4 separate regions of the Homo sapiens genome follow, and regions 1, 2 and 4 are each linked to region 3. The links are contacts of gene promoters, found by promoter capture Hi-C in blood cells and fetal thymus (Javierre and others, 2016). All regions are on one chromosome and are shown on one strand. Each heading gives the region's core, a stretch centred on a gene start or on the middle of the fragment in contact. The rest is flanking DNA. Distances are from core to core; before and after follow the strand shown.

Evidence for each region. The method cuts DNA at HindIII sites, captures the fragments that hold promoters and counts their contacts. A CHiCAGO score of 5 or more calls a contact.
Region 1: the fragment with the promoter of FNDC10 here is called in contact with the fragment with the promoter of CALML6 in region 3 in 1 of 17 cell types (neutrophils); the score reaches 5.5 in neutrophils.
Region 2: the fragment with the promoter of SSU72 here is called in contact with the fragment with the promoter of CALML6 in region 3 in 1 of 17 cell types (neutrophils); the score reaches 9.9 in neutrophils.
Region 4: a fragment that was not itself captured here is called in contact with the fragment with the promoter of CALML6 in region 3 in 3 of 17 cell types (erythroblasts, fetal thymus and endothelial precursors); the score reaches 8.4 in erythroblasts.

What each region holds. Positions count from the first base shown.
Region 1 is chr1:1,598,228-1,603,700 of GRCh38, reverse strand. FNDC10 (fibronectin type III domain containing 10) reads left to right here and starts at 3,566. Exons shown (of 1, transcript NM_001242659.2): 1 at 3,566-5,473. The coding sequence starts at 3,686. The coding sequence ends at 4,366. LOC105378586 (a long non-coding RNA gene) reads right to left here and starts at 4,268. Exons shown (of 3, transcript NR_147951.1): 1 at 4,085-4,268; 2 at 2,995-3,044. RefSeq lists silencers at 1,934-2,076, 3,490-3,539, 3,840-3,959 and enhancers at 2,433-3,092, 3,093-3,752, 3,753-4,412, 4,413-5,071. The HindIII fragment of the contact is 12,096 bases long and covers 1-5,194 here.
Region 2 is chr1:1,572,145-1,577,128 of GRCh38, reverse strand. SSU72 (SSU72 homolog, RNA polymerase II CTD phosphatase) reads left to right here and starts at 2,266. Exons shown (of 5, transcript NM_014188.3): 1 at 2,266-2,651. The coding sequence starts at 2,572. It overlaps SSU72-AS1 (SSU72 antisense RNA 1), which reads right to left and starts at 2,182. Exons shown (of 1, transcript NR_197593.1): 1 at 58-2,182. RefSeq lists enhancers at 1-75, 1,993-2,062, 2,073-2,182 and silencers at 474-643, 2,303-2,462, 2,703-2,782. The HindIII fragment of the contact is 11,232 bases long and covers 1-4,984 here.
Region 3 is chr1:1,911,886-1,917,303 of GRCh38, reverse strand. It overlaps CALML6 (calmodulin like 6), which reads right to left and starts at 2,044. Exons shown (of 6, transcript NM_138705.4): 1 at 1,997-2,044; 2 at 1,569-1,619; 3 at 689-863; 4 at 408-552; 5 at 230-330; 6 at 8-157. The coding sequence starts at 2,023. The coding sequence ends at 111. RefSeq lists an enhancer at 2,537-3,223. The HindIII fragment of the contact is 9,795 bases long and covers 1-5,418 here.
Region 4 is chr1:2,195,455-2,200,830 of GRCh38, reverse strand. It overlaps a transcript of FAAP20 not described here. Among named protein-coding and RNA genes, the nearest start is that of FAAP20, 3.4 kb to the right of the region's middle. RefSeq lists enhancers at 1,206-1,803, 4,425-5,091. The HindIII fragment of the contact is 4,227 bases long and covers 1,446-5,376 here.

The DNA of each region.
Region 1 (5,473 bases), core at 2,317-4,816, 320 kb after region 3:
AGGGGCTCTGTCCCCTCCCTGGAATTTTGGAGGCATGACCAGAAGTTGTGAAGGGCTCACAGGGGCACATTTCTGGAAGAGAAAGCGGTCACTGCTGCTGGAGAAATGGGAGACCCACAGGGGCAGGAAAGGGTGGCTCCCGGGAGCCCTAAGGGACACGTGTGCCAGGATGCTGACACTGGCACCCAGCTCCCAGGGTAAAGGGGCTGCGGGTCGTGAGGGCCATGAGAAGCGGGTGGCTGCTGCCCTGGAGCTCTCATTCTTACAGCTCCTAAGCATCGGAGCCATTCCCCAGGTCCCCAGGGACCCACATGCTCAAGTCCCAGCAGACCCCGTGCCAGCTGCAAGGTTCCCTCAAGGCCATGGCCAGCAGGACACCTCGTCTCTGGAAGCTCCCCCGCCCCCATGTCTCCACTAATGCTGGAGACTTCCATCGTTACTGGTCCAGCCTTCCCCTGCCAGGCAAAAGCATTTCCAACCTGTCCTGGAGCTGGGGCAGTTGGAGAGAAGAGGGGTTCCCAGAGGGCGGCCTGCCTAGAGGGCCGGCAGCTTCCCTGCTACAGTGAGGACTGAGCCCTGGCCAGGGCTGCCCACGAGCCCCCGTGGCCCAGTCACCTGTGTGGGGAGATCAGGAGTGGCTGGGTGGGACCTCTGAGGGGTCCCCTGGACAGACACCCCTCCGGGGGCAGAAGTAGGGTCTCAGAGGACAGGGGAAGCACTCATCAAGCAGGGACCCCGTGGGTGGGGCTCAAGCTGTGGCAGAGGATGGGCCAACCTGGGGAGCAGAGGGACAGCATTTCAGAGACCGTCTGATGCTTCCAAGCAAGACAAGAAGCTGAAAACGTCTGATAGTTATTTTTCTGACACTTTCTATTTATGGAAGTGATACTTACTATTCACGATCATGGTCTGCTTTTAGAAAGCACTCTAGGTGAAAAAGTGAACTCATTCAAAGAAAACATTTAGTGACTGTCAGAATGCTGGTGTGTGTACAAACAGCATTGGAGACGGCGCTCCAGGTGGGGAAGCGTGTGCGCGTGAAAGGCCACCGCTGCTCAAGTGCAGGTGCTAAGCAGAGGTCACTCCCTCCCTCTCCTCCTCACCCCTCCCTGTCCCCTTCCCTCCTTCCTTCCTTAGGGTTGGCCCCAGCTGGACTTCGCAATATCTGGGTCCCCATGGCTCAGCAGGAGGCCGCGGGAAACAATGTTTTCCTCTCGCAGGCTCGGTTTCTGCCACTCTGCTAGCAGCCCGAGGCTCCACTCTTTTCTCTGCTGGTCTCTCTTCCCTCACCACTGGCCTCTCACCAGGAGCTCAGTCCCAGAACTACGTCTGCAACCACAGTCCCTAGCTAGAGGCCCGATGCAAGGCAGGCAGGACCATCTTCATAGGGGTCTGCAGGGTCTGCAGCCACGACACGCCGGGACCCTGGGTTGCAATGGTCAGAAACCCTGTGTTTCGGTGTTGACAATGACTTTGCAGTCCAGGAGGTGGCTGGCTTCAGGTGAGGCTGGATCCAGATGCTGGAAGCAGCTGGGCCGGGCTGGCGTCCTACCTCTCCCAAGGCTGGCTTCATTCTCCCGTTCTTCCCACCACCCACCTTCAGGGCCACAGCAGCTGGAATCCAACACCTGTCAGGGGCAGTCGCCCCCTCACATGAGCTTCAGCAAAGGCCTCGAGGCTAAGGGGTCCAGTCTGGCTGGCCGCGCCCAGGTCATCTGCCAACTCCTAGGCAGGGGAGTGTCAGCCCCACCCAAGCTCCCCATGACCTGAGGATGGATAAAGGGGGCTGCCCAGAGGGAAATGCAGGTGCTGCTACAAGAAGCTGGAATGGTCATGGCACAGGGTGAAGGCCCCAGCTGTCCTCAGGCCAACATGCCAAGATAGTTGGGGGCCGCCCCACCCCATATACCATCATCCAGGCTCCTGCCCTGCCCCACTGCCCATGCCCTCACACCTGGGGGCTGAGGGGCTTCCACTGGGAACTGGTGGCAGTAGGTCGGCTGAACCCCTGGGGAGTTCTGGGCAAGGACATGGGGGTCCCCTGAGTCACCATCACTCTCTGCTTCCCTGGGGCAGCCCCTGAGTCGCCTCACAACGCTGGGGCAAGAGTCAGAGCCCAGGGTTTGCCCTTCCTAAGCAGAGGTGGGAGCTGGGGGCAGGGGGCAGGGAGCGCCTCTCCCAAGGTCTCTGCCCCCAACCTCTCTGCGCCAGGTGCAGAGGCCTCAGCAGACCCTGCCAGGGGCCCAACAGGCTGGTGTAGGGGGTCAGGGCCCTCCATGCCGGGGACGGAGGTGCACCGTGACCACAGTTGGTGGGGGCCTGACCGCTGGGCCGGGGCTCTGGCAGAGCCCCTGAGATCCTGTGGGGTCCTGACCACTGCACTGGGTTTTTCAAGATGACCAGGAATTCGTGAGGCTGGGTGGTGACTCCGTGGGGGGGCGGAGACATGGCCATCCAGAGGTCGGGGACCAAGGACACCGTGAGCAGAATAGCCAGTCTCTCCTCACTCTGCCCCCAGGCAAGGAGAGCACAGGAAGGGGTTGCAGGAACTCATGGTCCAGTTGCCAGAGAGCCCCCCACAACCCCTGCAGACCCAGAGCTGGCTCAGCGGAGGTGCCAGCCCAGCCTTAGGTGCGAGGCTTGGCCTCCTTTCCAGTTAGGGCAGGCCGGCCAGGCCCGGCCACGTCTGCATACACAGTCCCTGGCTGTAGTCCTGGCCCTGGAGGGGTGTCCTGGTTGCTGGGTGATCTATGCAGGGACGGGAATGAGGGGCAGGGGTCTTGGGGTGTGTCCCGCCTTCCCCTCCCCCGTCGGTGCCACCTACTCAGTGCACCGGGTGGGCTTTTTGGATTCCCTTTGTCCAGCCCTGACCTCCCCACAGCCATCGGGAGGGCCCCCCAGAGCGCATCTGGAGGAGGAGGGGGCGCAATGAGGCAGGGAAGGTCGGCGCCCTGCAGCTGCCTCCGCTGCGTGTGGAGCGAAGGGAGTTCTCACCTTGCGAAGTCTCATCTGTCAGGCTTTCCTCCGGGTGGGCGCTGTCCGTCCTGAAAGGAACAGAAGCCGCGGGGTGAAGGAAAGTCTCCGTGCTGGTCCCCACCCCATCGGTATGGGCAGGTACCCTGACTGCGCGGGTCCCCGCCGCGGGTCCAGGGCGGCCAGCGTTGGGGTGCAAGGCCCGGGGTCCTGCGCGTGCCAGACCGCTGCGCCCCCATCGTAAAGCACGAAGTCCCCGACTGGTGTGGCCACGGGCGGTCGCGGAGCTGCACGACGCGAAACGAAGCCGGCCACAGCCCGTGAGTTTCGGCTCGGAAAAGCCGCAGGGGTCCAAGGTGCGCTCACTAGGCGGGAAGCCGGGAGAGCGGCGGCCCTGCCCGCACCCCGCGCCCCTGCCCGCACCCCAGCCCCACCGGCACTCCGGCCGCCTCGCTGCGTCCCCCTCCTCCCCCCCACCCCCGATCCCCCGCACCCGTAGGCCGCGGCCCGGCGAGGGTTAAGGGGGGCGGGGCGAGGGGCGGCCCCGCCTCCGCCGCCGCGCCGGGTCCGAGCGCGCACGGGGCGCGGGGGCGGGTCGGAGCGGGCGGCGGCGGAGGGCGCGGCGCGCCGGGGATCGCGGGGAGCGGGCAGCGGGGACGGCGGCGGCGCGGCCCGCGTGACCCAGCGCCGCGCCCCGTGGCCCCGCCGCAGGATGCGCGCCCCGCCGCTGCTGCTGCTGCTGGCCGCCTGCGCGCCGCCGCCCTGCGCCGCGGCCGCCCCGACGCCGCCGGGCTGGGAGCCGACCCCCGACGCGCCCTGGTGCCCCTACAAGGTGCTGCCCGAGGGCCCCGAGGCGGGCGGCGGGCGCCTGTGCTTCCGCAGCCCCGCGCGCGGCTTCCGCTGCCAGGCTCCGGGCTGCGTGCTGCACGCCCCGGCCGGCCGCTCCCTGCGCGCCAGCGTCCTGCGCAACCGCAGCGTCCTCCTGCAGTGGCGCCTGGCCCCGGCCGCCGCGCGCCGCGTGCGCGCCTTCGCGCTCAACTGCTCGTGGCGCGGCGCCTACACGCGCTTCCCGTGCGAGCGCGTGCTCCTCGGGGCCTCCTGCCGCGACTACCTGCTGCCCGACGTGCACGACAGCGTCCTCTACCGCCTGTGCCTGCAGCCGCTGCCGCTGCGCGCTGGGCCCGCCGCCGCCGCGCCAGAGACCCCCGAGCCGGCCGAGTGCGTGGAGTTCACCGCCGAGCCGGCCGGCATGCAGGACATCGTGGTGGCCATGACGGCGGTGGGCGGCTCCATCTGCGTCATGCTGGTGGTCATCTGCCTGCTGGTGGCCTACATCACCGAGAACCTCATGCGCCCGGCCCTCGCGCGCCCCGGCCTGCGCAGACACCCCTGAAGCGCGAGGCCGCCCGCCCATCTTTGCGCCACCTGCCTGAGGGCGCCTGAGCTCCCAGGTCCTCCGCCCGCTCTCCTCTCCTCATTCCTGCTGCCTCCTTAAGATCCCCGCGGAGGAGGACCTGCCGGCGACGGCTCCGGCACTTTGGCATCATCACACGCCCTTTCCAGCCGGGCGTCAGACTCCCAGACTCTGGCCCCGGATTGGCCCCTGGGCTTGCGCTGCTGTGCCAGCCGCATCCAGGGCTCTCCCCGCTCTCCGCAGGCCTTTATAGAGGCGGCCAGGGCATGGAGCCCCTTCCAGCAAGAGCCATGGGCACTCCGGCTCACCCCGCACCTCCATCCTGTGCCGAATTGTCCCAGACAGACCGTCGCCATTGCTCGGTCACTGTGCTTTGCAGGCCTGGGGCGCAGCTCTCCAAGCCTGTCCTGCCCCGCCCCACCCCACTGGGCTTAGGTTAGCTTCGTGCCTTAGTATCTCGGGCCCACTGCAGGAGCCAACACCCTCTGCTGTCCAGGGGGGGTCTGTGGCCCTAAGATTGGCCGGCCTCTCCATGCATCTGGCCAGCGTCCCCTTGGAGACACCTTCACCCTCAAGCGCTGCAGAAGCATGAGGTGAGGGCCTGCAGCGCTCTGTACCGTTTAGGGTGTTGGACCAGCCGGGAGCCTGGCAGGCCTGGCCCAGCGGCCAGGGTGAGTGTTCTCAGACCCCGGGCAGCTGGTGGTTCTCCAGGGCCAGGTACCCCTTTTGTGTGTGCGACCTCTGACTAGGTCCCTGTGGGAATGGGGCAGATGGCGGCCATCACCACTGGGTCCCAGGGCAGAAGCTTAGATACCGGCCTTGAGCAGCCCGACCTTCCACCGCTGCCTGGATCCCAAGCCTCAGCCGACCCAGGGGACCTTGGTGGCAACGGTGTGACTGACAGCACCACCCCTAGCCTTTGCATGCCCAGGGGTCGAGAGCCAGTATCCGGCCCAGACAATGCCACCCGCCATGGAAGAAAAGCTGACCCTGCCCACCTGCTGCAGACCCGGGCCCCGGGCCGAGGTTGCTTTCTGTGACGACCGCCTGGTGACGCTGGACACCAGGAGGGTTATGGCACTGCCC
Region 2 (4,984 bases), core at 1,017-3,516, 340 kb after region 3:
ACACTGAGATCCATTTACACACAGAAAGAAAACAGGCACATGGTTACAAGTCTCGTGTAATTTCTATGGCCATTTTATTTATTCAATTGGCTTCCTTTAATCTCTATTTTTCTATTTTTGTTTTCTAATTTTTTTCTTTTTAATTGCTTTCCTTTAAGCCTAGGTTCATGGGTCAAAACCAATATGCAAACTGGGATAGTCATATTATTATTGATTTTACCTTGTATTTTCCCCTTTTAAACTTATTCATTGCCATATTTTGCAAAAGGACAATTTCTTTTTTTTTATTTTTTTGAGATGGAATCTCACTCTGTTGCCAGGGTGAACTGCATAGGCACAATCTCAGCTCATAGCAACCTCCGCCTCCTGGGTTTAGGTGATTCTCCTGCCTCAGCCTCCTGAGTAGCTGGGACTACAAGTGCGCACCACTACATCCGGCTAACTTTTGTATTTGTAGTGGAGACAGGGTTTCACCATGTCGGCCAGGATGGTCTCGATCTCTTGACCTCGTGTTCCACCCGCCTCGGCCTCCCAAAGTGCTGGGATTACGGACGTGAGCCACCGCGCCCGGCTACAAGTACAATTTCTAACAGAATAATGCTGACACAGCACTTTGAGATGATAGAAAGACTACAGAAGTGACAAAAGTTGAAGTTAATAATGGACTCCAGGTTAGACTTAGCCTGAGAGCCACACCCTTCAAACCTCCTTTGATGCTCAAATATGGTAAAAAAGGGTTTTGACAATGACTCCCAGCAGCCACTCTCTCCAGTGTGGGACCAGACCAGCTATCTGGGACAAGTTCATCCCAGCACGGGGACTATCAAAACCTAATTACAGGATGACTCATTAGTGATGCATTTGGAGAAAGATCTCAATCAAAAGGGGAAAATACCCAAGTTGTCAAATAAAAGTGGACTCACTTATGTTTAAAAAATACCTTGACAAAGACAGCTGGGAAAGGCCATGGAGAATTCTCATGAATCAATAATAAGAAAAACTATCACAAGATTCTGCAAAAACCACAACCTTGCACTAAGGCAATCTTACACAAAAAATACTTCAGCAAGGACAGCTGCCCAGCAACTGCCTGTCCAACCCTGGAACGGGAGTACACTTGTTTTTTTTTTTTTTTAGACGGAGTCTGGCTCTGTCGCCCAGGCTGGAGGGCAGTGGCGCGATCTCGGCTCACTACAAGCTCCGCCTCCCGGGTTCACGCCATTCTCCTGCCTCAGCCTCCCGAGTAGCTGGGACTACAGGCGCCCGCCACCACGCCCGGCTAATTTTTTGTATTTTTAGTAGAGACGGGGTTTCACCGGGTTAGGCAGGACGGTCTGGATCTCCCGACCTCGTGATCCGCCCGCCTCGGCCTCCCAAAGTGCTGGGATTACAGGCGTGAGCCACCGCGCCCGGCCGGGAGTACACTTGTTACTGTTCTTTGTAGCCAAGGTTAATTATTTCCAAACCATTATCTTCCTCTTCATTTTTTCTTTAAAAACCATTACTTTCCTGAATGCGCAAATCGTTTACTATGGCACGCATATTCGCCAACGCCCTATTCCCAAATAAATATCATTTTCAGTTAGCCTGTTATTAGGTTGACAATCATTATCACTCCCTCTCCCGTCCGTGGCGCTCCCACGGCAAAACATCAGCCCACTGTCCACCGCGAGGCTGCATCCAGGCAGACAGGCATAGCTGGGGAATGACACACTCGCGTTGACTGGATTTACTGTAACTGGACCCAAATCTCAGACCAGCCGGCGGCCTCTCCAAGGAAGCCCGAGGCGAGGAAGATCCTAGTCGACGTGCACTCCCAACCAGGTCTGTCACAGGTCGGCCCTCGCATTTAAACGTTAAATGTTGAAGGGCTTTCATAAAAGAGCGATGTGCTCCTGCTTGTATGAGCCGGGGCCGGAGGCCGGTAACAGCGGCACGGGACGGGAGCGAGCCTCAGAATGCGGGAATGTCTGTGGGCCTCCGGGACAGTGGAGGGAGCGGGTCTAGTGAAGCGCGACGACTCTGGGGTGGCAGAAGTGAGGACTATGGGCCCCACGGGGACCGAGGGAACGCACAAAATCGTCCCAAGAGACGAAACGCCGGGCCGCGGAAGGGCCCTCAATGCTATCTCCGGCAAGCGCGGCGTTTCGCATCGCTCCCAAAGGCGGCGGCGACACCTTATGACGTCCTGTTGTTCCGCACGTCGTCGCGTCACACTAGGCGCCGGCGCGGGGTGCTGATGTCAGGACGCCGCCGCTTGGCGCCGTGACGCTCAGCCGGGCCTTGTGGAGTGCGGGTCTCTGCTGCGGACGCCGGGGGCCGGCGCGGCGTTGGCCGCCCCCGGCCTCGCCGAGTGCAGCGCGCCCGAAGGCCAGTGCCTGCGCTCCGTCCGCGGCCCGGCGCCCAGGGTGGGCGGGGAGGCCGCCGCGCAGTCGCCGCACGCTACACCGCCGGCGCCGTCGTTTCGCGTCGCCCGCTTCCGGCCACCGCGGCCGCCATTTTGTTCGCGCGGAAGCGCCGCGGTAGGGTGGGAACCCAAGCGGGAGAGCCGCGGGATTTGCGGCCGCCGCCATGCCGTCGTCCCCGCTGCGGGTGGCGGTGGTGTGCTCGAGCAACCAGAACCGGAGCATGGAGGCGCACAACATCCTCAGGTAGTTGGGCTCCACCCTGTCCCCGCGCGCTCTGCTCCGGCGACCGGCCCTCCCTCCTCCCCGGTTCCCCCTGGCCCGCGCCAGGACCCCTGAGAGGAAGCCGGGCCGGGCCGCGCTCGTGGGTCGGCTGGTTGGGATGGCAGCTGGACGGCAGCGCGCGTAGTCCACACGCGGGTGGGCATCACAGGGAAGGCAGGTTCCGGGACGAGGCGCCCGCTGTCCGGTGGTCCTTCGAGCTCTCCGAGGCCGGGCCCGGGGGGCGAGGGTAGCGTCCGCGGCGAGGGGCTGCGCGGCGGCGGCCGATCATGGTATTTCGTGTGCGTCGTTGGCCACCTTCCCTGGAAACGGCGCGCAACACAATCACGGCATACCACGATGTTGTAAATAACAAAGCGGTCTCTTTTTTTAATGCCATGGATTTGTGTGTTTGCTACTTCTTCTTCTTTTTTTTTTTTTGCGAAAGATCCTCTCTTCCTCCCTGGAACGCCTCCAACCGGTAGTTTCTGGAATACAACGTGGACTTGGTTTGGCTCTGCTAGTTTATATTCCCTGCTAACTGGCCGCCTGTGACTCTTGCGTAGCGTATGTCTAATGAAAGTTTATTCCTGCTTGATAACAAGTTTTTTGTTCAGTCACATAGCAAACTGAGAAACTGACCACTTGACTTACAGTTAAAATTTGGTATGTGTCAACTTTGATAGTAAGAAAGTTGAAATGGCTTTTTTACCTCCAAAGTTACCTACGTGAACTTTAAATGAAAACAGTGTTTCGCTTCTCTTCTCGCAGTCCAGCTATAACTTTCCTGAGCAACTTGGGAAAATTAACAGTCCCCCTTTTTTTTCCGTTTTTAACAGTGTCACGTGGGCCAGGCACGGTGGCTCACGCGTGTAGTCCCCGCACTTTGGGAGGCCGACGCACGCGGATCACCTGAAGTCAGGAGTTGGAGACCAAAAAACACCCCCCAAAAATCAGTGTCAAGTGTTCATGATCTGCTGATTCTTTCTCTTTATTCTTTTCTTTCTTTTTTTTTTTTTTTTTTTTTTTTTTTGAGACAGAGTCTTGCTCTGTCGCCCAAACTGGAGTGCAGTAGCGCGATCTCGGCTCACTGCAACTTGTGCCTCCCGAGATCGAGCTATTCTCCTGCCTCAGCCTCCCGAGTAGCTGGGACTACAGGCACCGGCCACCAGGCACGGCTAATTTTTTTTTTTTTTTGTATTTTTAGTAGAGACGGAGTTTCATCATCTTAGCCAGGATGGTCTTGATCTTATGACCTCGTGATCTGCCCGCTCGGCCTCCCAAAGTGCTGGGATTACAGGCGTGAGCCACTGCGCCCGGCTTTTTTTGTATTTTTAGTAGAGACGGAGCTTCACCATGCTGGCCAGGCTAATCTCAAACTCCTGACCTCAGGTGATCTGCCCGCCTCGGCCTCCCAAAGTGCTGGGATTACAGGCGTCAGCCACCGCATCCGGCCAAAGGTTGTTTTTAAAACTAGAAATGTGCTAGAATTACATTGTGCTGGATCTTCATTTATAAACTGCAGTTACCTGTAAAAATTTGATACATTTAAGCAAAACAATGCAAGGCTCACCCCCCCCCCCCCAAGACAAAATTATTGTTAATTGGAATAACAAATGGGCTGGAGACCTTCTGGTTCTGCTGGTTCTCCTTGGTGATCCTTTGTTCAAGATTTTCTGCTGTACCTGCATAACAAAGATGGAGTAGGCCGGGCGCAGTGGCTCACACCTGTAATCCTAGCACCTTGGGAGGCCGAGATGGGCGGATCACAAAGTCAGGAGATTGAGACTATCCTGGCTAACACGATGAAACCCCGTCTCTACTGAAAATACAAAAAAATTAGCCGGGCGTGGTGGCGGGCGCCTGCAGTCCCAGTTACTCGGGAGGCTGAGGCAGGAGAATGGCATGAACCCAGGAGGCGGAGCTTGCATTGAGCCGAGATCATGCCACTGCACTCCAGCCTGGGCGACAGAGCAAGACTCCATCTCAAATAAATACATAAATAAAATAAAGTTGGAGTAGAATATATATTTTTTTTCTTGAGGGGGAGTCTGTAGCCCAGGCTGGAGTGCAGTGGTGCTATCTCAGCTCACTGCAAGCTCCGCCTCCTGGGTTCACACTATTCTCCTGCCTCAGCCTCCTGAGTAGCTGGGACTACAGGCGCCCGCCACCACGCCCGGCTAATTTTTTTGTATTTTTAGTAGAGACGGGGTTTCACCATGTTAGCCAGGATGGTCTCGATCTCCTGACCTCGTGATCCGCCTGCGTGGGCCTCCCAAAGTGCTGGGATTATAGGCGTGAGCTACTGCGCCTGGCAA
Region 3 (5,418 bases), core at 795-3,294:
ACACAGGTTGGGCTGGAACATTTATTTTACACGGAGCCGGGGGAGTGGGGGCCAGGGGGCAGGGGCAGCAGCCTTCCCGGGCAGGCCTCCCCCGGCTGCGGCAGCTGCACCTACTGGATCAGCTTGAAGGACTCCCCCGTCATCATGGCCACAAACTCTGGGAACAGAGGGGCAGGTCAGCAGCTTGCCCCGGCCCAGCCAACGGCTCCCAGGGCTCCAGGCCACTCACCCTCATAGTCGATGGTCCTGTCCCCATCCTTGTCGGCCTCCTTCATCATCTGCTCCGCCTCCACCTCGTTGAGGGGCTCCCCTGCGTTCATTAGCACGTACCTACGGGGCCTGGCGCTGAGCCACTCCATCGGCCCTGCCCGTGCCCGCCCACCACCCGCCCCCAACCCGGGCCCTACTTGAGTGTGTTCCAGTCAATGTAGCCCTTGCCCTCTTTGTCAAAGACACGGAATGCCGCCCTCAGCTCGCTCTCCTGGTTCTGGGCCTTCTCATGGTAAACTCCCATTAGTGCCAGGAAACCATCGCAGTTGAAGAACCCTTTGTCTGCAAGGGGCACAGCTGGGGCTCAAGGGATGGGGCACAGCACTCCCCATGGGCTTTGCCTCTTCCCCCCGTAGGCACTGACACCTGACCCAGGGCCCCCCCGAGGCTGCCCACCCCACTCCAGCCATGAGCTCACTGTCTCTGTCCACATCCTTGGCCATTGAGGCCAGCTCACTCTTGGTGGGGTTGATACCCAGCAGGCTCATGAGCCACTCCAGCTCCCCCGTCTTCACCTCCCCGTTGCCCTCTTCGTCGAACATCTCAAAGACTCCCTTGTACTCCTTGATCTGCTCAGCCGACAGGCGCTCTGTCTGCAGGGGACACCCGCACCGGCCTGACCAGGAGCCCCTTCTGCCCCTGTGTCCAGGGAAGGGTCAGAGGTACCCCCTGCACCCATTCCTCCATTGGCAGCCTTTCAAGGTGAGTGGTAAGAGAGGAGGCCCCCAGCGGAGAGCAGGCTTCCAGGACAAGGGGTCACACGCCAGGGGTTTGCAGGGCCAGCAGGGCTCTGCCAGGCAGCTAACAGGGGCAAGGGCCAGACAGGCAGGAGCCAGCGTGCGAGGGAACAGCAGCAGCTGCAGGGCCAGGCGGGCCAGGCAGCGGCCCTGGAGCCTGGCAATGGACACCAGGTGAGGCAGGTGAAGGAAGCCGAGAGCAGGGTGGGGAGGAGCCCAGCCCTGGCCCGGGAAAGGCTTCCAGCCCAGGATTGGGATACAGCCCAGGAAGCAGAACCCTGGGCTCCAGCCTGTGTGGCATTCCGGAGGGAGAGTCCAGCACCGGGCCACACCTGCCTGCCACCACTGCTGCTGCCCATCTGGGAGCCAGCTTTCAGAAAGGGCTGCTCCACCCTGGCCCCGGAACAAGGGCTGTGTTGGTGGCAGCAGGGCTTGGCCCCCTCTTCTACCTCAGCCCCTTCCTGCCCAGGCTCCGTGGCAGGTCATTGCACCTCCAGGTTCCAGCTCAACCTACCCAGCCAGCCCACCAGAGACTCCATCGGGCACAGAGAGCAGCCTTACCATGTCGGTGGTTGTCTGACAGGATTCTGCAGGGTGGTGACACCAGGGCTGCTGTGGGCAGAGTGCTGGGGCAGTGGTGGCAGCTGAGTTTTAGCTGGGCCTGGCTGCCTGGGGTCCCCGGGGTCCAGATTCCAAGAGCCTTTTATGGGTGGGAAATCCTGCCGGCCCTATTTTGGGACAGGCTCTCGGCCTTATCCACAGGGCCCCTTCCCGGCCCGCTTTGGCCTGGGCTTCCCCTGACCCTGAAGATGGGCACCGAAGGCTAAGTGCGGGGGCCAGGAAAGGGCTGAGACATGGCGGGACCCTCACACACGCTGTTCCCCGTGCTGTTCCCTCTTCACTGGACCAAGCTCCAAGTCTACCTTCCCAGAGGTGCGGCCCTCCAGCAGGTCTTCATGGGACCCTGGTCCCATGCTGTCATCACTTACCAGTGAGATTTCTTGTTGAAGACCCATCCTGGCCAGCTGGTGCTCAGTGGCTCAGAGCCTGGCCACCCTCCCATCCTGGTGGACTCAACATTGGCCCCGTGCCAGCATGTCACAAACTCTCAGGACAGGTCGAATGAACAAATGCATGAGGCACCGCTTGACCATCTTGTACAGGAGGGGCTGAGGGTCCACCATTCAGGGAGGAGACAGCAGGACATGGGCTGGGGGTGAAGGGGGAAAGGGAGCAAAACAGGGCCTGGGGGCTGGGCTGCCCGCTGGAAGCCAGGCACAGTTGGGGGCTATTTTGGGGTTTCTCAGGGAAACCTGATCTCCCTTCCACTCAGAACAGCAAAGCTGGCTCCCGAGGGGGCCTGGTGCCCAGGCTGGTCCGTATCAACATGCCACCGTGGAGCACACGCCTGCACACGTGTGTTCCCTCCTCAGACCCGCACTGAGCCCTCCCTGTCTGGGTCTAATTACCCACCAGACTCCCAAAGCCAGGGTCCAGCTCCTCCCTGCCCCACCCAGGCAAGAGTGTGAGGATTGCAGTGGCAGGTCAGGGCCCTCAGGGTCACACTCACACCTGCCCCCCGACTGGCCCCTTGATGGCATGAAGAGTCTGAGCAGGTGGGGCACTCAGTGTCCCCCGCCAGCCCAACCCTCTGCCTGCCAGCAAACCTGCAGCTACAGGATGGCTCCCGCTGAAACCCAGGCCAGCTGCTGAGACTGCAAGATTGACGCTGACGAGGGCAGGCCAATGGCCCAGGGCACCTCCAGCCAAACGGGAGCCGGGGCTGGAGGGAAGCGGCCCTGGGTCTGGTGGGGCCAAGGGAGGCCCTGACCTTCATCCTGGCTGCTCCCTGGCCTCAGCTTTCCCCTGGGCTGGGGCAGGGAACAATTCACGCACTGAGCACCTTCCCCCAGGGGCATAGAATGGAGGGAGCCGCAGCACCCAGGCCAGGGCCCATCCTGGGTTCTGGCTCAGGGTCTCCAGGTACAGGCCAGCTGGGTACAGAGACACAGAGAACTGCACTGGCCTCGTGGCCCTGGACAAGTCCCCACCCCAACAACTCTCACAGCCAGTGGACAGCAGGCTCTGCCTCCTCCGTTCCCAGGCTTCCAGCGTCTGACATTCCTGGGCCACAGCCCTGAAGGTTCCAGACATCCTGATGGGCTTACGAGTGAAACTCAAAGCTGTGACCCCTGGAGCCCAACTTAAAGCAGAGGGCACACCCCCCGCCCCGCCCGTAGGAAGGGGCAACATGGCCACAACCACCATCAACCTCTCTCCTCTCCATCTAGGCTTCTACCCATATCCAAGACCCAGTACAAGCAGCAGAACAGGTCCTCGCCCTCTAACCCTCTCTCCTCATGCTGACCAGCCTCTGTGTGGCCTTCGGACATACCCCGTATCTCTAGGACCTGAGACTCATCCAATCTTTATTTTCCTTCTTGTGTCTCTTCTGATCACCGAAGGGCTATTCTCCATAAGAAAACAGAAAAAGAGGCTGGGCACGGTGGCTCACGCCTGTAATCCCAGCACTTTGGGAGGCTGAGGCGGGCAGATCACGAGGTCAGGAGATCGAGACCATCCTGGCTAACACAGTGAAACCCCGACTGTACTAAAAAAAATACAAAAAAATTAGCCAGGCGTGGTGGTAGACACCTGTAGTCCCAGCTTCTCCGGAGGCTGAGGCAGGAGAATGGCGTGAACCCAGGAGGCAGACCTTGCAGTGAGGCGAGATCGCGCCACTGCACTCCAGCCTGGGCAACAGAGCGAGACTCCATCTCAAAAAAAAAAAAGAAAAGAAAAGAAAACAGAAAAAGAGAAAAACCCTGTAACAATTAGAATGCTGCCTCAGCCACGTTCAGGTGCAAGTGCAGTTGTGTTCATGGCCGTACCCAGTTATGCAGCAGATCTCTAGAACCTTTCACCTTGCAAAACGGACCCCCGCCCCCATTAAACAGCATCTGCCCTCTTCCACCACCCCCCGCCCCCCAGCCTATGGCAATCACTATTCTACTTTCTGTTTTTAAGAATTCGACTCCGGGGGCCGGGTGTGGTGGCTCACGCCTGTAATCCCAGCACTTTGGGAGGCCGAGGTGGGTGGATCACAAGGTCAGGAGTTCAAGACCAGCCTGGCCAAGATGGTTACACCCTGTTTCTACTAAAAAAAATAAAAAAATAAAAAAATTAGCCGGGCGTGGTGGCAGGTGCCTGTAATCCCAGCTACTCAGGAGGCTGAGGCAGAGAATTGCTTGAACCTGGGAGGTGGAGGATGCAGTGAGCCGAGATTGCGCCACTGCACCCCAGCCCGGGTGACAGAGTGAGACTCCATCTCCAAAAAAAAAAAAAAGAATTCGACTTTTTTTTTTTTTTTTTTTTTGAGGCAGAGTCCCGCTCTATCTCCAGGCTGGAGTGCAGTGGCGCGATCTCAGCTCACTGCAACCTCTGCCTCCCAGGTCAAGCAATTCTCTTGCCTCAGCCTCCCGAGTAGCTGGGACTACAGGCACCCACCACCAAGTCCGGCTAATTTTTTATACTTTTACTAGAGACGGGGTTTCACCGTGTTAGCCAGGATCGTCTCGATCTCCTTACCTTGTGATCCGCCCACCTGGGCCTCACAAAGTGCTGAGATTACAGGCATGAGCCACCGCACTCGGCCTGGAATAGGCGTCTTTTTTAAGGCTGAGTAAAATGTTATTCTCGGGATGGACCACACTCGGTTTATCCACCATCTGCTGATGAACACTTAGGTGCTCCCACCTCTTGGCTGTTGGAACTGCTGCTGCAATGAATATGGGCGGGCATGAAGGTGTTTCATAGATGTGATTAGTATTTAAATCAGTAGGCCGGGCATGGTGGCTCATGCCTGTAATCCCAGCACTTTGGGGGACCGAGGCAGGGAGATCACAAGGTCAGGAGATCGAGACCATCCTGGCTAACATGGTGAAATGCCGTCTCTACTAAAAATAAAAATAAAAAAATTAGCTGGGCATGGTGGTGCGCGCCTGTAGTCCCAGCTACTTGGGAGACTGAGGCAGGAGAATGGCGTGAACCCCAAGGAGGCAGAGCTTGCAGTGAGCCGAGATCGTGCCACTGCACTCCAGCCTGAGAGACAGAGCGAGACTCCACCTCAAAAAAAAAAAGAAAAAGTATTTAAATCAGTAGACTTTGGGTAAAGCACATGACCCTCCATAATGTAGGGGGGGGCCGCATCCAGTTAGTTGAGGACCTTAAGAGAAAAGACTGAGGTCCCCCAAGGAAGAAGGAATTCTGCCTCCAGACGGCTGCAACATCAGCTCTTCCCTGGAGGTTGCCTACAGTGCAATCACACGGGCCAATTCCTCAAAATCTCTCTCGTCTGTGTATATGACAGACGTATATATACAGACATACACACATATACACATCCCCCTGC
Region 4 (5,376 bases), core at 2,310-4,809, 280 kb before region 3:
GGGATCCTCCAAGGGCCCCCTTCCAGCTCTTGGCCCATGGGGGAGCCTCTTCCTCAGCTCCGGGTGTGGTGGACAGGAGACCGAGGGCTCCCCGCACCCAGCTGGGCTCAGCGTTTTCAAGCTGAACTTGGTGCGTGGCGGCTTGGAAAGCCGGGAGCCTGCTGCGTGTCTCCTGGGGCTGCTGTGAAAAAATGACCACACACTGGGAGCCTAAAACGAGTGACATGTATATTCTCACAGTTCAGGCAGCTGGTGTCCAAAATCAGTGGTTGGGAGGGTGGAGCTCCGCCTAAAGGCTCTGGGTGGCTGCTGCCTGCCCCTTCCAGCCCCGGGCCCCCGGCATTCCCTGGCGTGCAGCTGCTCCACCCCCAACCCCAAAGCCTCCTTCCTGTGTCTCTGTGTCCAAATTTTCCTTACCTTTTTTTTTTTTTTTTTGAGATAGAGTTTTGCTCTTGTCGCCCAGGCTGGAGTGCAACAGCACGATCTCGGCCTATCGCAACCTCCGCCTCCTGGGTTCAAGCGATTCTCCTGCCTCAGCCTCCTAAGTAGCTGGGATTACAGGTGCCCACCACCACACCCAGCTAATTTTGTATCTTTAGTAGAGATGGGGTTTCACGATGTCTTTCAGGCTGGTCTCGAACTCCTGACCTCACATGATCCACCTGCCTCGGCCTCCCAAAGTGCTGAAATTACAGGCATGAGCCACAGCACCTGGCCAATTTTCCTTTTCTTTCTCTCTCTCTTTTTTTTTTGAGACGGAGTCTTGCTCTGTTGCCCAGGCTGGAGTAAAATGGCACAATCTTGGCTCACTGCAACCTCTGCCTTCTGGGTTCAAGCGATTCTCCTGCCTCAGCCTCCCGAGTAGCTGAGACTACAGGCGCCCACCACCACACCCAGCTAATTTTTGTGTTTTTTAGTAGAGACGGGGTTTCACTATGTTGGCCAGGCTGGTCTAGAACTCCTGACCTCAAGTGATCTGCCCGCCTCGGCCTCCCAAAGTGCTGGGATTGCAGGCGTGAGACACTGCACCCGGACAATTTTCCTTTTCTTACAAGAACACTGCTCACACTGCATTCAGGGCCAACCCTAACCCAGTATCGCCTCATCCTGGTTTGATTATATCGGCACAGACCTTGCTTCCGAGCGAGGCCACTTTCTCAGGTACTGGTGGACATGAGTCTTCGGAGACGCTGCTCAACCCACAGTGCTCCTCCAGCTTGGTTTCTGTGACTTGCCTTCCCCAGAGGAGGGGTGCCCTGAGAGGTCTCCACTCCCTGACCGGCTCCTTGGTGCCGCGCACTCTGAGAGGCTTCCCAGGGAACAGAGCACACAGGACCGCCCTCCTGGGTAGACCAATCAGCATCTGAGCTCACAATTTCCCAGCAGGGCAGTGGGGTGGAGAGAGAAGCCTGGGCTGGGCTGGGCTGGGCTGGGCTGGGGAAGCTTCTCCGGGCGGGGGGACGTCAGAGCAGGATCTGGGGCTGATAAAAGCCCGCCCCTGGGTGGGGGCTGAGTGGTGCGGAAGCTGAGCCCGACACGTGGGGATGGAGGACAGGCTGTGGGAGGGTGTGAACCGGATACTGCTTGAAGGGGTGCTGGGGACTTTGAGAGAGGGCGGCTGGCCCTGTCTGGTCGGGGATGCTGGCCCAGACACAGGCCATGGCTGGGATGGGGTTCAGAAACAGGACCGCTGTCTCTCCCGGGCCAGGGCCCTCCCCAGCTGCTCCTGGCTTTCTGGTTCTTGGGGTCAGGGGCAGGCCTGTGCCATGACCCCGCCACTGAGGCTGTGAGGAGGCTGTCGGTGCCCAAGGGCACCAAGGCACACCCCTACTCTTGCACCCCATGTGTGGGCCCGAGCACCTGCTCTGCTGCCCCAAAGATCTGGCGATGTTTCCCAGGCAACTGTCTCTCACAGCCTGTCTGCCTGGCACTCCCGTATCCCATAAATGCCACCACATCTGGCTATGGGTGGGCGTGCCTGCCTGGCATCCACGGGCCAGCAGGTGTGGTGGAGCACAGCCCAGTTCCTGGCTGCGTCAGAAGGCTGCCCGGGCCTTTTGGCTGTCCTTGCCAGCAGGTGAGCACTGCCAGGGCACCGTGTGTGGGTGCTGGGCCATTTAGCCACATGGGAAGGGGTGGAGGCAGCCCAGTGCCTTCAGCATGTGCCCAGGGTGCCTGTCGGCCACAGGTCTCATTTGGAAATTGGGAGGGTGCACGGCCACCGGGCTGCTTAGGCCTGCCAGCCTCAGGGCCCGTCACCGCTGTCTTAGCCTGATTTGCAGGGTGTCAGCGCTGGGCAGAGATGAACATTTGGGTGACTCTGAGGATGCCAGTGGCTGGGACACTTGTTCTTCCGCGGTGGAAGGAGTTGGAGAGGCCTGGCTCCCTGACCTACGGCCAGCCTGGCTTCTGAAACCAGCTCAGTGGGCTGGGGCCTGATTCATCATCCATAAATGTGTCCTTTTTTGCCACAGAGGGTAAGGGGCCTCCTAGCCCACCGGTCTGCAGGTGCGGGAGTAGGAGATGGGTGGCTCTGATGCCCCCACCCACTCGATCACCTTCTGCTCTGCCTGGGATGCAAACTCCCACAGCTGAAACGTTCTTTTGTAAACATGAATTTTGGCTTAGAAAAAACTCATTTCCACTGTGCACGTGTCAGTCCCAACCAGAAATTATTTTCCAATAAAGCAAAACTCCGTCACCACAGCAGCAGATGGCTCCGAAGAAGTGGAGCGTTTTCATCAGGTTCAACTTTGAAACCTCCACCATCACCATCACCAGCACCGCTGTGTCATGCTGATAACTTGAGGACAGGCAGGACAAGGTATGTTTGTTGGAGGTGAACATGCTTCCTTGTCTTGAGAGTCTTGAGTGGCCGGTCCCCTTCCAGGCCCTCGGCTGGCAGGCAGCTGTCGGGAAGCTGTCAGGCGGGAGGGGATTGGGGGTCAGGCTTCCTGACAAGTGGAGGCACCCGCCACGTGCCCAGAGCAGAGGTCACCCCAGTGCCTTTCTCTGTGGACTTATCTCTGGCTGTAGGTCACAGGGGCCTGCCCCACTGCCCCCTCCCCAGTGGTGACATGGGAGGAGGGGAGATTAATCCAGAGCAGCAGATAAACTGGAGGGGAAGAGCCCCCAGGAGGACAACTGTGACACGTTGTGCTGCCTCTGCGTCCCCAAAGCACCAGGCCCAGAGGCCCTGCCTTCTGCCCCATGGCACTGGCCTGGGGCCCTGGCTCCTCTTCCCTGGTGGCCAAGGGTAAATGAGGCCCACTGGGGTGGCTAAGACTCAAGGGGATGGGGGCCCCCCAGCTTCAGTGATGCGGGCTGGAGCCAGGCTCAGCCAGCCCTGAGGTCCCCTGCAGGCCCGTGCCTCCTACCCTTGGGGCACCCGCAGCGAGAGCTTCCCAAGCAGCCTGCGCCAGCCGGGCAGCGCAGGTGTCCCGGGTCTGGGTCACTTGAGACCCCGCCCTGCTTCTGCTCGGCTCTGCCCCTCTTGGGCCCAGTGGCCAGGGCACCTGCATGGGGGAGCCGGGAGGGGCTGGAAGGATGCTGAAGACCCCAGCAAAGCTCTAGTGTTTGGCTTTCCAGGGGTGGGGGCTGGGTCCTCCCGCCCAGAAAGGCCCCTGTTCTGGGGCAGCAGCCACACACAGGTGTCCCTCACATGGTCCTCCAGGACAGGGCAGGGGCCTGAGTTTCCCAGGCTCTGCCCAAGGGACCCAGGCAGGGAAGGAGATGGGTCCCAGGGGGCTCGGAGCCCATCCAGAGGCCGGCCGGTCCCATGGCAGGAGGGCACTGGACCATGTGGGGGCCATAGAGGAGGAGGAGGCAGGAGCCACCCCCGGGTCCAACAGCAGAACCCTGGGGTTGGGAGCCAGAGTGGGGAAGGGAGAGGAAGGAGCAAGAACACCCCCCACCACCCCCAGCACGGCACAGAGAGCTGAGCAAACACTTGTCACCAAGGGCTTTTCTCCTCTGTCTTTTTTTGTTTTTCGAGACAGAGTCTTGCTGTGATGCCCAAGCTGTTGTGCAGTGGTGCGATCTTGGCTCACCACAACCTATGCCTCCTAGGCTCAGGTGGTTTTCGTGCCTCAGCCACCCAAGTAGTTGGGATTAAAGGTGTGCACCACCATGCCCGGCTAATTTTTGTATTTTTAGTAGAGATGGGGTTTCTGCATGTTGGCCAGGCTGGTCTCAAACTCCTGGCCTCAAGTGATCCTCCCGACTTGGCCTCCCAAAGTGCTGGGATTGCAGGCTTGAGCCACCACACCTGGCCTATTTTTTTTTTTTTTTGAGTTGGGGTCTGGAGTGCAGTGGCACGATCTTGCCTCACTGCAGCCCCCACCTACCTGGGCTCAGGTGATCCTCCCACCTTAGCCACCCAAGTAGGTGGGACCACAGGCACATGCCACCATGCCCAGCTAATTTTTTATTTATAGAGACAAGGTCTTGCCATGTTGCCCAGGCTGGTCTCAAACTCCTGGGCTCAAGCAATCTGCCTGCCTGGACCTCCCCAAGTCCTAGAATTGCAGGCATGGGCTGCTGGGCCTGGCCTTTTCTCCTGTCTTGGGAGGCTGGGACCAGTCTTCCTGGAAGTACCCAAGGCCCTCCTGCAGACCATGGTGACATTTCCAGGAAAGACCCAGAAGCTCGGAGCTGAAGCCAGGGCAGCCAGGACTGTCGGGGAGCCCTGGACACTGGCTGTCTGAGAGCGCTTGGTCAGCTGGCACCTGCCATGTGGTGGACGTGGGGCTGCAGAGACCCCACGGCTGGGCTTCTCTCGCCTGAGAGCAGGCCCAGCCACAGGCTACCTCCCACAGGGCCCCCTGAGACCACACGGCCTGCAGCAGCTCCCCCAGGCCCCCTCCCCCTGCCCGGGCAGCACTCAGCGCTGCATCTCCATCTGCTCACTCAAGTCGAAGGGCCTGGGGGTTGGTGCCTCCATCTTGTTCTGCTGGGGGCCTCCAGCATCTAGAGCAGGAAGGTGTGCGGAAGAAAACCACTCATGCAGGGAGAGGGGGACCTCCCAGTCCAGGCCCTGCTGCTGACCCTTTCCCTGAACACCAACCTATGGCCTCCAGGCTGGGGCCCCTTGAAGGACGGTGGGCCACTCGGGTGGCCTGGGTTCAGGGCCGGGCTCCACAGCTGAGTTCTGGAGGGAGGGCACAGACGACTGGGGGCTGGGAGGGGCCAGGTGAGGGGTAGGAACAGCCAGGGAGCCCTGCAGGAGGGGTGCCCAGCATAGCCCCAAAGCTGCTGGGGCTGGGCAGGGCAGAAACTGCCAAGGAGTCCCAGAGCCCTGAGTGGCGTCTGGCGAGGGCCCCTGACCCTGATCTCTGTAGACCCCACTCCTTCCGTGAGGGTGGCAGCCACTCCAGG